Linked DNA regions of Homo sapiens: region 1 is linked to region 2. Evidence: promoter capture Hi-C in human tissues and cell types (Jung and others, 2019). All regions are on one chromosome and are shown on one strand. Each heading gives the region's core, a stretch centred on a gene start or on the middle of the fragment in contact. The rest is flanking DNA. Distances are from core to core; before and after follow the strand shown.

Region 1 (6,540 bases), core at 3,738-6,237, 800 kb before region 2:
TTAGCAACTCCTGCTCTGGGAAGCAGGAAAAGAAAGCTCAAGTCAGGAGGGGCAGAGAGATTTGGGCCCATGCTCACAAGCAGATCTGGGCAAAAAGAGCCAGGCATCCCCACCTCCCAAAACAGGTCTGTGCTTTCAAATACTGGCAAAAAAGTCTGGGATCACTGATTGAGAGCAAGTCCCTAAACTCAAGACATCAGAATTCCAACAGAAGCTGCCTTGGTCAACCACTGTACCTATGTGTCTTATTGGTCATAATCTCATATAATACTCCTAGCACAGTGCTTTAAACCTAGCCCACCTCCATGCTGGTGGGCTTCTCTCCTTGAAATCCAAGTAGAAGTCGTATAGTACCTTGATGAGTAGAAGAGTCCCTTTGTTCCAAGTTAGTACCAACTCTGAGGTTTTTTTTAGCAGAGGCAAGGGGGAAGCTTGACCTCATTCAGGAGTATGGAAGGGGACACTTATCCACATTGATTAGTTTTCTTTGTCCTGCCTCCACTGATGCTGAAATGGTGAAGAGGGCTGTCAAAGGATTCAGAAATAAAGTGAAATGAGGGTAGGGAGGGTGGCCACAAGGCTACAGTAGCTTTGTTAAGGAAGAACCCCAAAGATGAGTACAGTATATTGAACAAAAAAGGGGTATCATTCTGGGAATACAGCACCATCTACCTCACATACCAGACTTAAGCCTAACTCTTAAAAAAAGTTTTCTGCTGGGCGCAGTGGCTCATGCCTGTAATCCTGGCACTTTGGGAGGCCGAGGCGGGTGGATCATGAGGTCAGGAGTTCAAGACCAGCCTGCCCAGCATGGTGAAACCCTGTCTCTACTAAAAATACAAAAAATTAGCCTGGGATGGTGGAGCGCACTTGTAGTCCCAGCTACTTGGGAGGCTGAGGCAGGAGAATTGCTTGAACCCGGCAGGTGGAGGTTGCAGTGAGCAAAGATTGCACCACTGCACTCCAGCCTGGGTGACAGAGCGAGACTCCATCTCAAAAAAAAAAAAAAAAAAAAAAGTTTTCTCAGCTGGGCATGGTGGCTCACGCCTGTAATCCCAGCACTTTGGGAGGCCGAGGTGGGTGGATCACGAGGTCAGGAGTTCAAGACCAGCCTGGCCAAGATGGAGAAACCCCGTCTCTACTAAAAAAATACAAAAAATTAGCCGGGCATGGTGGCAGGTGCCTGTAATCCCAGCTACTCGGGAGGCTGAGGCAAAGAATTGCTTAAACCCGGGAGGCAGGGTTGCAGTGAGCCAAGATCGCACCACTGCACTCCAACCTGGGTGACAGAGTAAGACTCCGTCTCAAAAAAAAAAAAAAAAGTTTTCTCAACACTTATCACAGCCCCCACACAGGCACCCTGACTACTTATTTTCTTCTGTAATGTATTTCTGTAACTACACAGCCAACACAGATACCACAGCTTTGTAAGCGACTTACTTAAATAGCTTATACCAATAGTGTCATTAATAGAGACATAGACAATGTAGGGAATAGGAAATCTGTAGTTTGTAAAGGGTTAGAGAAACCTGTATTCAAGTACTAGCTTCATCATTTGCCCATACTGAGAGCCTGTCATTCCTCAATTATCAACAGGGATGAATTCTGCTCTCCTACTTCACAGAATTACTAAGATCGAGAGTCAATGAACATTTTCACTAAATGAGCATTTTCATTGAAAATGAAACAATGATGGTCAATAGTTACCATTCAAGGATAGCAGATGTGGCTGAGTCTGACCACAGACAACACAAAGAAAACTGACTAAGGAAGCCCCAACTGCAGGACAACCTGGCCTTCAGCCTGAGAGTTAAATGTAACAGAAAGCACTGCTGTCTATTCCAGGATGGACTGGAGGCAATTTTCTGCCTGAAATTCAGTCCTCCCAATGGAGACCTCTCTGTTCATCCTTCTGTTTTGAAGGTCAGAGGGCACAGGTGGCATAGGCAACAGGAACCTCTATCTGTAGGCAGAGAGGCACAGGCAATGTGTTCAAACACAGATTTCAGAGTCTGAGCTGAGTATGGGCCAGTCACAGGACTGTCATGTGGCACTGGCAAGTGACAAACCCTCTCTCTATACCTTATCCTTCTGACAAAGGCAAGAGAGTCTTCCATATGGAATTTTTGAGGAATGGGTGACAACATATGTGAAAATATTCAATATAGTGCCTGGCACATGGTAGCAACTTGACAAATGTTAGCTATTATTTCTATGACTTTATCCAGTCATTGGGTCAATCTGCCATTTCCAGACCCCTCCACTAGGGGGCAGATATGCACATAAAGAAGCAGTAAAAGAAGGTAATTTTGGCATTTGTCCCCAGAGCCCCAGTGTTCTGCCATGGAAGGAAATCAAAGTTGTTATCTGAAGATGGTTTAAGGACCAAGGACCTTTTATCAGCTATTCAAACAGTAAATATTTACAGAGCCACTACTATATTGTGATCCTGAGAAGGGGAAATACAGAGCAGAGGTTTAGGATTAAGAAAGAAAAAATTTCCAGTGGCGCATGCCTGTAATCTGAGCTACTCGAGAGACTAAGGCAGGAGCACTGCTTAAACCCGGGAGATGGAGGTTGCAGTGAACCGAGATTGCGCCACTGCACTCCAGTCTGGGTGACAGAGGGAGACTCCATCTCAAAAAAAAAAAAAAAAAAAAAAAGGGCCGGGCATGGTGGCTCATGCCTGTAATCCCACTACTCAGGAGACTGAGGCGGGAGAATCACTTGAACTTGGGAGGCGGAGGTTGCAGTGAGCCGAGATCGTGCCACTGCACTCCAGCCTGGGTGACAAGAGCAAAAGTCCTCCTCAAAATAATAAAATAAAATAAAGTGGGCTGGGTGTGGTGGCTCACACCTGTAATCCCAGCACTTTGAGAGGCCGAGGCAGGCGGATCACCTGAAGTCGGGAGTTCGAGACCAGCCTGACCAACATGAAGAAACCCTGTCTCTACTGAAAATACAAAATTAGCTGGGCGTGGTGGTGCATGCCTGTAATCTCAGCTACTCAAGAGGCTGAGGTAGAGAATCGCTTGAACCCAGAAGGCGGAGGTTGCGTTGAGCCGAGATCACGCCATTGCACTCCAGCCTAGCAACAAGAGCAAAACTCTATCTAAAAAAAATAATTAAAAAAAAAATAAAAATAATAAAAGTGAACACCAAGATAAAGCTGCCAATTTGCCCGTCCTCCAAATGGCTTTTCCCTTGATATCACATCTTTGGGTAAAGCTGTCAGAGTGTGTTAAGGAACCCAGAACAAAGGAAGCTTCTCTTTGTCATCTTACTGCATGCCTCTAAGTACGTTCCCTCTCCAGTTGTGTCCCCAGAAGCCCAGAAATAGGCACGATGCAGTTAGGATGCTGATTTGGATGACCAGAGAGTATAACATAACACCTTCATCACCCAATCATCACTTATTAAGATAAAGGATGGGTTGAGAAAGCTATAGCAGAGCTTGCCTTATTGTGTCAGGCAACTGTAGAAGGAGGACTACCACCTTCAGCTGTTATTACATAGAGCTGGATTCACTGGCCAAATTCCAGAACTAGCCAGGCTCTGAGTCTTACGCTCTCTCAAAGAAATGAAGTCTAAAGGCTGGACCATTTTTAACTTCTGATGATGTTCTCACATGGCAGGGGCTGGCAAACGACAGCCTGCGTGCCTGGTCCAGTTGCTGTTTTTTTGTAAAAAAGTTTCACTGGAACACAGACACCCTCATTTGTTTATTGTCTGTGGCTGCCGTTGCCCTACAATGCCAGAGTTGAGTAGATGCAACAGAGACCACATGGCCCACAAAGCTTAAATTATTGGCTATCTGGGCTTTACAGAAAGTTTGTTAACCCCTGTCATAAGGGGTTCAGTTAAGGTGCTGAAGCACCTTTCCTATCAAAGGGAAGCCTAGCCACCTCAATGATTTCCCCTTTGTGCTCTGAATGGAAGGTCTATTCCAAATTTAGGGCTGTTTTTACACCTGAAGATACTATACATGGTAATGTGCCAAGAATAGAATATTTTCCTTGCAGATCATGTATTACAGGGAGAGAAGGTAGGAAGGAGTCCGGGAAAATATGAAGTATAAAACCCCAATTCCAGAAAGTTAAGACAAGAATCTAACAGTTTTCAAAGGCTCAATCTTCTGGGAAGTGTATTAGCAGGAAAATGCCCAGAGAGACTGAGAAAGCTAGCTCTCCATCTCTTCTGAGGGCAAAAGCTCCCTGACTTCCTGTGAACTAAAGTCACACTGACTCAGAAGGCAGGTAGCAAAGCCAAAGGGAACTGTCTGTTTCCATGGTAGACTACTAAGAGAGTTCAAAACAAGAGAACAGCATAGTTTATTTCAGAGATATAGTAAGTAATCTGGACTGTGAGTTTTCATTCAATTCCCTATGAAGGTTCAAACTGAAACACCTTTTTTAAGGGTGATATATATATATATATTTCCCCTGAAGCTCTTTATAGTTTTGTTGTTCAACAGAAAGCTATCAGCAACAATTAAAATTGAGATACAATGGGGAATTACAGAATTTAAGCAGACCCCTAATGGCTGGACACAGTGGCTCACACCTGTAATCCCAGCACTTTGGGAGGCCAAGTTAGGGGCATCACCTGAGATCAGGAGTTTGAGACCAGCCTGGCCAACATGGTGAAACCCTATCTCTACTAAAAATAGAAAATTAGCCAGGCATGGTGGTGGGCACCTGTAATCCCAGCTACTCGGGAGGCTGAAGCAAGAGAATTGCTTAACCCGGGAGGGAGAGGTTGCAGTGAGCCAATCAAGATCGCGTCATTGCACTCCAGCCTGGGTGACAAGAGCAAGACTTCGTCTTAAAAAAAAAAAAAAAAGAAAGGTGTCAAAATTCAAGGTCAGTGTACCCCAGATGTGCTTCAAGGACGGCCCAAATGTAGAGACAAAAACAAAGAATCACACATGCTCCATAGGATCCAGATTACTTACATTTCTGAAGTCCAGTGTTCATCTGCGTGTGAGAAAGAAGCTGAAAGGACAGGTCACCTGGCCCTGGTAGACAGGCTAGCATGGCAGATTGGCATCAACACAACATGGGGCAGTGGCTCACACTGTAATGAACAAAAACAAGGTCATGAAACACAAGGCAACTCATTCGAAGAAGAGAGTAGGAACACTGGATATGACTGGCGTGAGGCCCAAGTTTAGACACATAAAGCAATTTAATTAGCAGTGTGTTGGTTGAAAGTATACTTACATCTTTATCTGTGACGACAATTTGCTGTCAAATATCACTATGGTTAAAATGATTTTTCAGTTACCACAGATGTATGGATGGGAGAAATAAAACTGGAAAGCACCTATTCATACAACTGGAAAGTACAGGTGCATTTATAATGTCTCAGTATTCCTGAGGAGAGTGGGCCCTCATAGGGCCTGGCTCAGCCAGCCCATTTATAGGCCTGGTTGGAGACCAGCCAGACATTTTCAGAAGCAGCACATTATATGATTGCAAAGGTACCCAATGTCTGACTTGTGAGCCAGTAATATGAACCCACTTTTATTTTATTTTTTTTGAGACGGAGTTTCACTCTTGTTGCCCAGGCTGGAGTGCCATGGTGCGATCTTGGCTCACTGCAACCTCTGCCTCCCAGGTTCAAGCGATTCTCCTGCTTCAGCCTCCCGAGTAGCTGGGATTAAAGGCACCCGCCACCACGCCTGGCTAATTTCTTTGTATTTTTAGTAGAGACGGGGTTTCACCATGTTGGCCAGGCTGGTCTCGAACTCCTGACCTCAGTTGATCCGCCCACCTCGGCCTCCCAAAGTGCCGGGATTACAGGTGTGAGCCACTGCACCCGGCCATGAACTTACATTTATTTACTTATTTATTTATTTATTTAAGACAGAGTTCTGCTGTCACCTAGGCTGGAGTGCAGTGGTACAATTTTGGCTCACTGCAACCCTTGACTCCTGAGTTCAAGCGATTCTCGTCCCTCAGCCTCTCTAGCAGCTGGGATTACAGGCGCATGCCGCCATGCCCAGCCAATTTTTGTACTTTTAGTAGAGATGGGGTTTCACCATGTTGGTCAGGCTGGTCTCAAACTCCTGACCTCAGGTGGTCCGCCCGCCTCAGCTTCCCAAAGTGCTGTGATTACAGTCATGAGCCACCGCACCCGGCCGAACTCACTTTTAAATGGAAGGAGGAAAGCATCCTAGGAGGCACAATTAACCACTGTTAAAGCAAATTCTGTTTGCAAATTTCTGGGGCTTCACCCTTCCTGACATGCAATTAGACCTCCTGAACTACCTCTCCCACCCCCTCAAAAGAAATGCATTGCTCCCAGACTAAAGCAAGGAGAAAGGCTGCCAGCAGCTCTCTTCGTGCAGGCAATCCTGACATGTCAAGACCGCACGAGTTTCATTAGTGATGTTTACCAACCAGACATACACAGCCCAAGCAAGCAGACATTGATGGGGCCTTCTGTAGCGAAAGAAGCCCTGTCAACAATGCAAGCTCCTTAGGTAACAGAAATACGATTTTCCTAAATAAGTACACGAACTTCTTTTCCCATATT
Region 2 (7,296 bases), core at 16-2,515:
AGGTATCTCTGCTGTCGTGGGCCAGGTGCTCAGATTGCTAGGATACAGCAGGGGGTGCCGAGATGAGGCAAGGGGCCGGGTTAGGAGTCCCTGCTCTAGCACAGCGATACTAGCTGAGTCCATCGATGACCTTTAAACCCGCTTCCCCGGTTCTGTCTAGATTACAGGGTTTGGAAGGCTTTGGAAGATGTGTTCAGAGAACTTTGCCCAAACTGGCCCACGCCTGTTCCAATGCTATGCATAGCTGTTTCTGATTCTTAGCCAGCTCAGGCCCTCTATTCTTTCCATGCTGGTCTGCGGCCTCCGTTACCCACCTGCTGAGGGCGATCTTCTGGTGGAGCAGAAAGCCCCGCTCGTAGGGCCAGGGCAGGCCGGCCTCGAACCACTCTCGGCAGCGCAGCACGGGCGAGATGCAGGCGGCGCCTGTCACGTAGCTGGAGGAGCCGCACTCGCCCAGGTAGGACAGGAGCAGCGCCGAGCCCGAGCCTTCGCTCACCGCGAACAGCGGCGCCGCCGGGTGTCGGAAGCGGATGTATGTGACCGCCTCCTTGAGGTCGGACGGGTCCCCGAAAGGCTGCAGCCGGGGGCTGACCAGTGGGCAACCGTGGTGGCCGCGGCGATGGAAGATGACCGGGTAGTAGCCGCGCTCCAGGGCGAGCAAGCAAAGGCCGAGCACGTTGCGGGTGAGGCGACCCCACGCATTGGGGATCACCAGAAGCACCGCAGGAAGGCCCCCGGCGCTGGTGATCCGGCGGCCCCGAACACAAGGTCCTACCACCCAGTCCAGGGCCACTAGCCCATCGTCCGCCAACTGCAGGTACTCCCGGGCCAGCTCAGGCCCAGGCGCTACGGGCAGGACGAAGTGGCAGAGGGTCTGCAGGTGGGGCCCGGAGAACCAGGAGCGCGGGCCGGCCTCCAGCGCCTCTGAGCGCCGCAGGGCGCGCAGCAGGCACTGGGCCAGGGCCGACGGCTTGCAAACAAGGCTGCACCCTCCCGGCAGTGGCTCGCGCCCGTCGCTGAACTGGTCCGCCGGGCCTCCGCCGTCCGCCTCCTCCCCGTCGTCTCGGTCTTGGGCCCCCGGCAGGGTCCTCTCTCCGACGGCGCGCCCCCAGGGTCCCCGGAGCCGCGGGCCGAGCAGGCCGAGAAGGGCGAGCACGGCCAAGATGAGCGCGAGGGCGGCGCCCCACGGCGGCATGGCGAAGCTGGAGAGCCCCGGCGGGCAGCGGGCGGCGGGGCCGTCTACTCGGCGAGCTCCGCGCTTTGCCCGCGGCTCCGCCCGCCGGCGGCGGCTGCCCAGGGCCCTCCCGCGCGGGCGCGCTCTGGATTGGCCGTGGCCGGGCAGAGGCAGCCAGTTCGGGCCCGGCTGCCCTCGCCCGCCCCCCACCCCCGCCCCGGCCCTTTGTACAGCAATTGCAACAAGTGGGAGCAGAGGGTGAGAGGAGCCGGGGCCACCAGGGAGGGAGGGCGCGCCGGCAGCCGGAAGGGAGTGGGGAGGGCACGAGCCGGGGAGAGCGGTGTTGGCCATGGAGACGTGGGGAGACTGGAGGCCGAGGCTTGGGGACCCGACTGTCATCAGGGTCTTCCGCCAGACCCTGGGCGCTGCGCCCTCAGAGGCCGATGAAAAGAAGCAGAAGGGAGAGGTGAGTAAGTCGCAGCTCCGGGCGCCGGCTCCCGGGACCCCGTGGGGCGGCGGCCGCGCGCGCGCTCTGCCCTCGGGCGGCCCTGCTCTCCCCCGCCCGGCCCCGCAACCCCGCAATAACTTGGCTGGGCGGGGTCCGGCACTGGGCTAGAGAGGTCGAGCGCGGCGTCTTGAGCCGCTGGCGGGAGGCTGCTGCTTCCCCGCCTGCATCAGTGCGGGTCCCGTGGACTCCTCGCCCCCGTCCCCGCGAGCTCGGGGCTCCACATCAAGGAAATCCTCAGCCCGGGAGTGGCTTCCCCAGAAACAGCAGCCCCAAGCCTCCGAGAGTCAGTCGGAGAAAAGGACACACTCAGGCGCCCTGCGACAGGGATGCCCGTCCGACCTACAAGGAACGCCTCGTAAACCGGGGTGCATGGGAGACCACGGAAATAACACGTTCTCGCTGTTTCCAAGCTTTGGGATAGGCATCTCGACCCTCGCTCTCTACCCACGTTTCCCCCCCAAATCCTGGAGAGGGAACCAGAACCAGCGCCCCGCTGCGGGGCGGGCCGGCCAGCGCACCTCCTGGGGGTGAGGCCTGTGGCGTCCCCATCTCGCGGCGACCAATCTCTTTCTAGACGCGCGCCTGCCACCGCTGGGCGACGGCGGAGGTGGGGAAGACAGCAGCCTCTCGGCTAGCTCCGGCCTCCCGGGGCTTCTGGGTTTGGAGAGTTTGGGGAGCGGAGACACCTCCCGAGGCTCCTCCGCGTTGGACCCTATTTGCGAGGGCGGGAGCGGGGTGGGCCGACGGCGAAGCTCCAGAGGTGGGACCCTCTCCCTTCAGCAGCTCTTCCTGACTTCATGATTCTGCCCCTCTTCTCATTGCAGGTCACACCGACAAATCTGAAGCGGGTTTGCCAGGGGAGTGTACCCGTCTCCCCAGCCTGGGCCACCCGGTCCACAGGGATTCCATTTCCGGCCTTACACTCCGCTCCACGATCTCATCCAGGCGCTGCAGCTGTGCAGCTGCTCTACAGACTGCAGGGACCTGCTGAGACGAATCCCCGGACGAGGAAAGGGGCCCCCCGCCTGCCCTACTGAGCCTTGCGCGCTGACCCGGTTCCTACACTTAACTTTTCCGGCTTCGGGTTTAAGACGCGTGCGCGCACACTCCGCTGCTGTGGGCGGGCATTGGGGCGGGGCGATACCGGGGGCCCACTGTCTGGGGAGGGGCGCGCGCGAGCCCAGGGCCAACGGACGCGCGGGCGGCGCGGGCGGCGCGGGGGCGCTGGGGCTGGAGGGGCGGGGCGCGCGCGCTCCCTCGCTGGCGGAGCGGCTGGGCGGCGGGCCGGGCCCGGGGCCGCTTGGAATGGCGCCTCCTCCGCCTTCGCCCCAACTGCTTCTCCTGGCAGCCCTCGCGAGGCTCCTGGGTCCCAGCGAGGTAAGGTGACCCGCTCCTGGGAAGGCCTCGGCCCGCGAGCTCAAAGCGCTTTGCCAAAAGTTCGTCCTGGAAGGAGTGGCGCGCCGAGGGGGACGCGGAGTTCTTCCGCTGGCGGGCTGGGCCTGGGGAGAGAGAGGGCAGGGCCTCGCCGCGTCCAGCGCCCCAACTCTTCGCTTTGGACCCACAGGTGATGGCTGGACCGGCGGAGGAGGCGGGAGCCCATTGTCCCGAGAGCCTGTGGCCTCTGCCTCCGCAGGTAGGAGCCCTGGAGGGCCCAGGGAGAGAGGGATGTGAAAGGCTAGCCCAGTCCCGCTCTGTTCTCGCCGCACCCTCCACAGTCACCATCTGAGGACCTCTGCCGGTTCCTCAGTCCTCAGTAGCCAACTTCTCCATCCCAGCCTGGCGCTTGGGGCCTGCCGTCCCCTCCCCACCACACACACACGGAGTCCCCCAACTGCCCTAAGCTCTGTTCTTTCCCCATGTATAGGTGTCACCAAGAGTGACCTACACACGAGTGAGCCCAGGGCAGGTGAGTACAAGCAGGGGCCCACCACCCTTGGTGTCCACGCCTGGAGACAGGCGCTCCTAGCAGGCTTCGCTGCCTGTTCTGCTGATCGGCCCCATTCCTTACCACTTCCCTCAGGCAGAGGCAGGGTTCTAGTTCTCTGCCCCACCTCCAAGCCCAGGACAGATCAGCCCCAGGACAGATGGCTCAAAGACAGTGAGCCATAGGCCTGTCATCTGCAATGCTGTGTCAGGATGCTGTTGGGTAGCTGGCTCTGTGGACAAGTGGCTGTGAGTGGAACTCTCTCTGAGAGTAGCTGGAAAAAACCCAGGCTCCAGCTCCCTGAGGAGACAGCGGGAAGTCTCCTGACTTTGTGGGCCCCAGCTTTCTGTAGGAGAGGGTATTAATTCTGTCTCTACCTGTGAGCAGCGAGGGAGGGTATGTGCCAGCACCGTGTACAGTACAGAGCTGCATCGTGCAAGGAGTGTGCCTCCAGTTGCCAGGCTCCACACTGCGGGCTCAGCTTGCGTGGTAGCATCTCCATCTTCATCGCCAGCTCCTCTGAATTTTCCTTTGAAATACTTATTATTATTATTATTTGAAATGGAATCTCACTCTGTTGCCCAGGCTGGAGTGCAGTGGCACTCACTGCAACCTCTGCCTCCAGGTTCAAGCAATTCTTATGCCACAGCCTCCCGAGCAGCTGGGATTACAGGCGTGTGCCACCTAGCTTAGCTAATTTTGTATTTTTAGTAGAGACGAGGTTTCACCATGTTGCCCACGCTGGTCTTGAGCTCCTGACCTCAAGTGATCTGCCTGCCTCAGCCTCCCAAGTGCTGGGATTACAGGTGTGAGCCACCATGCCTGGCCTGAAATACCTAACTTAAATTGGCCAGGCATGGTGGCTCACACCTGTAATCCCAGTACTTTAGGAGGCTGAGGCGGGTGGAACACCTGAGGTCAGGAGTTCAAGACCAGCTTGGCCAACATGGTGAAACCCTGTCTCTACTAAAAATACAAAAATTAGCTGGGCGTGGTGGCACACCCCTGTAATCCCAGCTACTTGGGAGGCTGAGGCAGGAGAATTGCTTGAGCCCAGGAGGCAGAGGTTGCAGTGAGCCGAGACCATGCCACTGCACTCCAGCCTGGCGACAGAGCGAGACTGTCTCAAAAAAAAAAAAAAATTCTCTGTAATAGCTCCAGGCCAAGAGTTGTTGCCTCACGCCACCTATCAGATTCCTTTCCTCAAACAGCCCTTTCATGAAGTCATTCCTCTGTTCACAAACTGTCAATGGCTCCTTATTTCCCACCTTATCGTGGCCATATTCTCCGGCCTGGCTTTTCAGGCCTTACTTAAGTAAGCTTCGTCTGACCTCTCCACATCCTTGGTTCCTCTCCAGTTGTGTCGGGCTGTTTGCCACACAAATGAGTGCCAGCCTCGCCCTTACCACAGCCCCTTTGCTCCTGTTTATTCTCCTCCACACCTGGCCTATCCTGACTCGGAGAGTGCAGCTCCCTGCCCTCCTGCCATACTCCCCCAGCCATCTTCCCAGTCCCAGCTGGCATCAGCTCCCCCTGAGACACTGCCCGATGGCATCAGCCTTTATTCCTCCCCTCCTCCTCTGAATCTATCTCTGATAATTTAACAACTAATCACTAAGTTTTATTAGTTTGCTGTTTTATTTGCATTAGTTGTTTCCCTGAGTTTCTCACACACTCCTTGCAAGCAGAGTCCAGGAGTTCTTTGGCATCTCCCACAGCATCTAGCACAGCACTGAGCACCAAGTCAACTCAATCAAAGAATAATGAATGATTGATGGAGTATTTCCATCCTGAGATTGTGCACCTGCTGCCTGCCTGCCCTGTATTTGGATGCTCTTGGGAGACTGTATAGATTGGATCGATGGTCTTCATTTGGGGGTTGCTTATGGCTTGGATTGTGGACCTGTAGAGCCATCGTTACACCTGCAGGGAAATATGGCTAGAGTGTGGTCTGAGTCTGGCAGGATTATCCAGGCATGCTGTGAGCTTTGAAGGGTGGCACTTGATGGAGAGGAAGGGTGAAAGGAACACTCAGAGGCAAGAGTGGGTACATGCCAATACCCAGGGCCCTTTGTCCTTTCCTGGGCCCTGAAGGTAGAAGAGCCATCCAGCTATCCTGGGAGTACCTTTAAACTGGTCCCCTGGATGGGAGAACTTGAGATTCTCTGGGAGGGCTCTGGGCCTGCTTTGATGTCTCTGTGCCTTTCCTCCAGGCTGAGGATGTCACCTTCCTCTACCACCCCTGTGCCCATCCCTGGCTGAAGCTCCAGCTTGCCCTCCTGGCCTATGCTTGTATGGCTAACCCTTCCCTCACCCCTGACTTCAGCCTCACGCAGGATCGGGTATGTAGCTGATGAAAGGCGCTTGCCTGGCCCTGGCAGAAGGCTATGGCCCCGTGTGCAGGGAATGGAAAATTCAAGGGTTTCCTCTTGTTTGTCCCCACCTTCCTCGTAGCTCTAACAGTTACCTCCTCTCGTAGCCCCTGGTGCTGACTGCATGGGGGCTGGCGCTGGAGATGGCCTGGGTAGAGCCAGCCTGGGCTGCCCACTGGCTGATGAGGAGGCGGAGGAGGAAGCAGAGGAAGAAGAAGGCATGGATCTACTGTGAAAGCCTTTCAGGGCCTGCTCCCTCCGAGCCAACTCCCGGTAGAGGGAGGCTGTGCCGAAGAGGGTGTGTGCAGGTGAGAGACGCTGGGCCCAGGCTTGTTGGCCCTCGGGTTCTCTGAGAGGGGCAGCAGGGTGATTGCTCTCTCTCCTCTCCTTAGGCCCTGGCTCTGGCCTTTGCTCTGCGGAGCTGGCGGCCCCCTGGCACAGAGGTGACATCTCAAGGGCCCAGGCAGCCCTCTTCTAGTGGTGCCAAGAGGCGGAGGCTGCGGGCTGCCCTTGGTCCCCAGCCCACTCGCTCAGCCCTGAGGTTTCCCTCTGCTTCCCCAGGGAGCTTGAAGGCCAAGCAGTCCATGGCGGGAATCCCTGGTAGGGAGAGTAATGCCCCATCTGTGCCCACTGTCTCCCTGCTGCCGGGGGCGCCTGGAGGCAATGCCAGCTCCAGGACAGAGGCTCAGGTGCCCAACGGGCAAGGCAGCCCAGGGGGCTGTGTCTGTTCAAGTCAGGCTTCCCCGGCCCCTCGCGCAGCAGCGCCTCCACGGGCAGCCCGGGGCCCCACCCCACGCACTGAAGAGGCCGCCTGGGCTGCCATGGCCCTGACCTTCCTGCTGGTGCTGCTCACCCTGGCCACGCTCTGCACACGGCTGCACAGAAACTTCCGACGCGGGGAGAGCATCTACTGGGGGCCCACAGCGGACAGCCAGGACACAGTGGCTGGTGAGGAGTTCCCTCCCTACCCTACCCGAGGCCCCCGCCCCACCTCGCGTCGCCCGCCGCCCCCCGTAGCTTCCCTGCCCTCCCGCCCTTGACTGCTCGGCGCCCGGCCCACAGCTGTGCTGAAGCGGAGGCTGCTGCAGCCCTCGCGCCGGGTCAAGCGCTCGCGCCGGAGACCCCTCCTCCCGCCCACGCCGGACAGCGGCCCGGAAGGCGAGAGCTCGGAGTGACGGCCTGGGACCTGCCACTGTGGCGTGCGGCTCCTCCCCGCGCCGCGAGGCCGCGACCTCTGCCACGTGGACCGCGCGCGGGGCGCTCCCTGGTGGCGATGGCGCGGCACTGGCCGAGCACTGCGGGGGCTTTCCTCCTTGTT

The links. The method cuts DNA at HindIII sites, captures the fragments that hold promoters and counts their contacts. A contact is called where the count stands out against the background at its distance.
Region 1: a contact is called between a fragment that was not itself captured here and the fragment with the promoter of ABHD15 in region 2, in 1 of the 25 tissues and cell types used here (dorsolateral prefrontal cortex).

Annotation. Positions count from the first base shown.
Region 1 is chr17:28,761,632-28,768,171 of GRCh38, forward strand. It overlaps FAM222B (family with sequence similarity 222 member B), which reads right to left. Exons shown (of 3, transcript NM_001077498.3): 2 at 4,955-5,076. The coding sequence starts at 5,036. Among named protein-coding and RNA genes, the nearest start is that of TRAF4, 21 kb to the left of the region's middle. RefSeq lists an enhancer at 1-245. The HindIII fragment of the contact is 6,278 bases long and covers 1,849-6,540 here.
Region 2 is chr17:29,565,772-29,573,067 of GRCh38, forward strand. It overlaps ABHD15 (abhydrolase domain containing 15), which reads right to left and starts at 1,266. Exons shown (of 2, transcript NM_198147.3): 1 at 315-1,266. The coding sequence starts at 1,195. TP53I13 (tumor protein p53 inducible protein 13) reads left to right here and starts at 2,930. Exons shown (of 7, transcript NM_138349.4): 1 at 2,930-3,059; 2 at 3,247-3,315; 3 at 3,547-3,588; 4 at 5,820-5,948; 5 at 6,086-6,286; 6 at 6,371-6,926; 7 at 7,041-7,296. The coding sequence starts at 2,988. The coding sequence ends at 7,153. RefSeq lists enhancers at 207-316, 2,337-2,386, 3,470-3,970 and silencers at 837-1,456, 1,547-1,806, 2,807-3,166, 7,120-7,189. The HindIII fragment of the contact is 7,059 bases long and covers 1-3,509 here.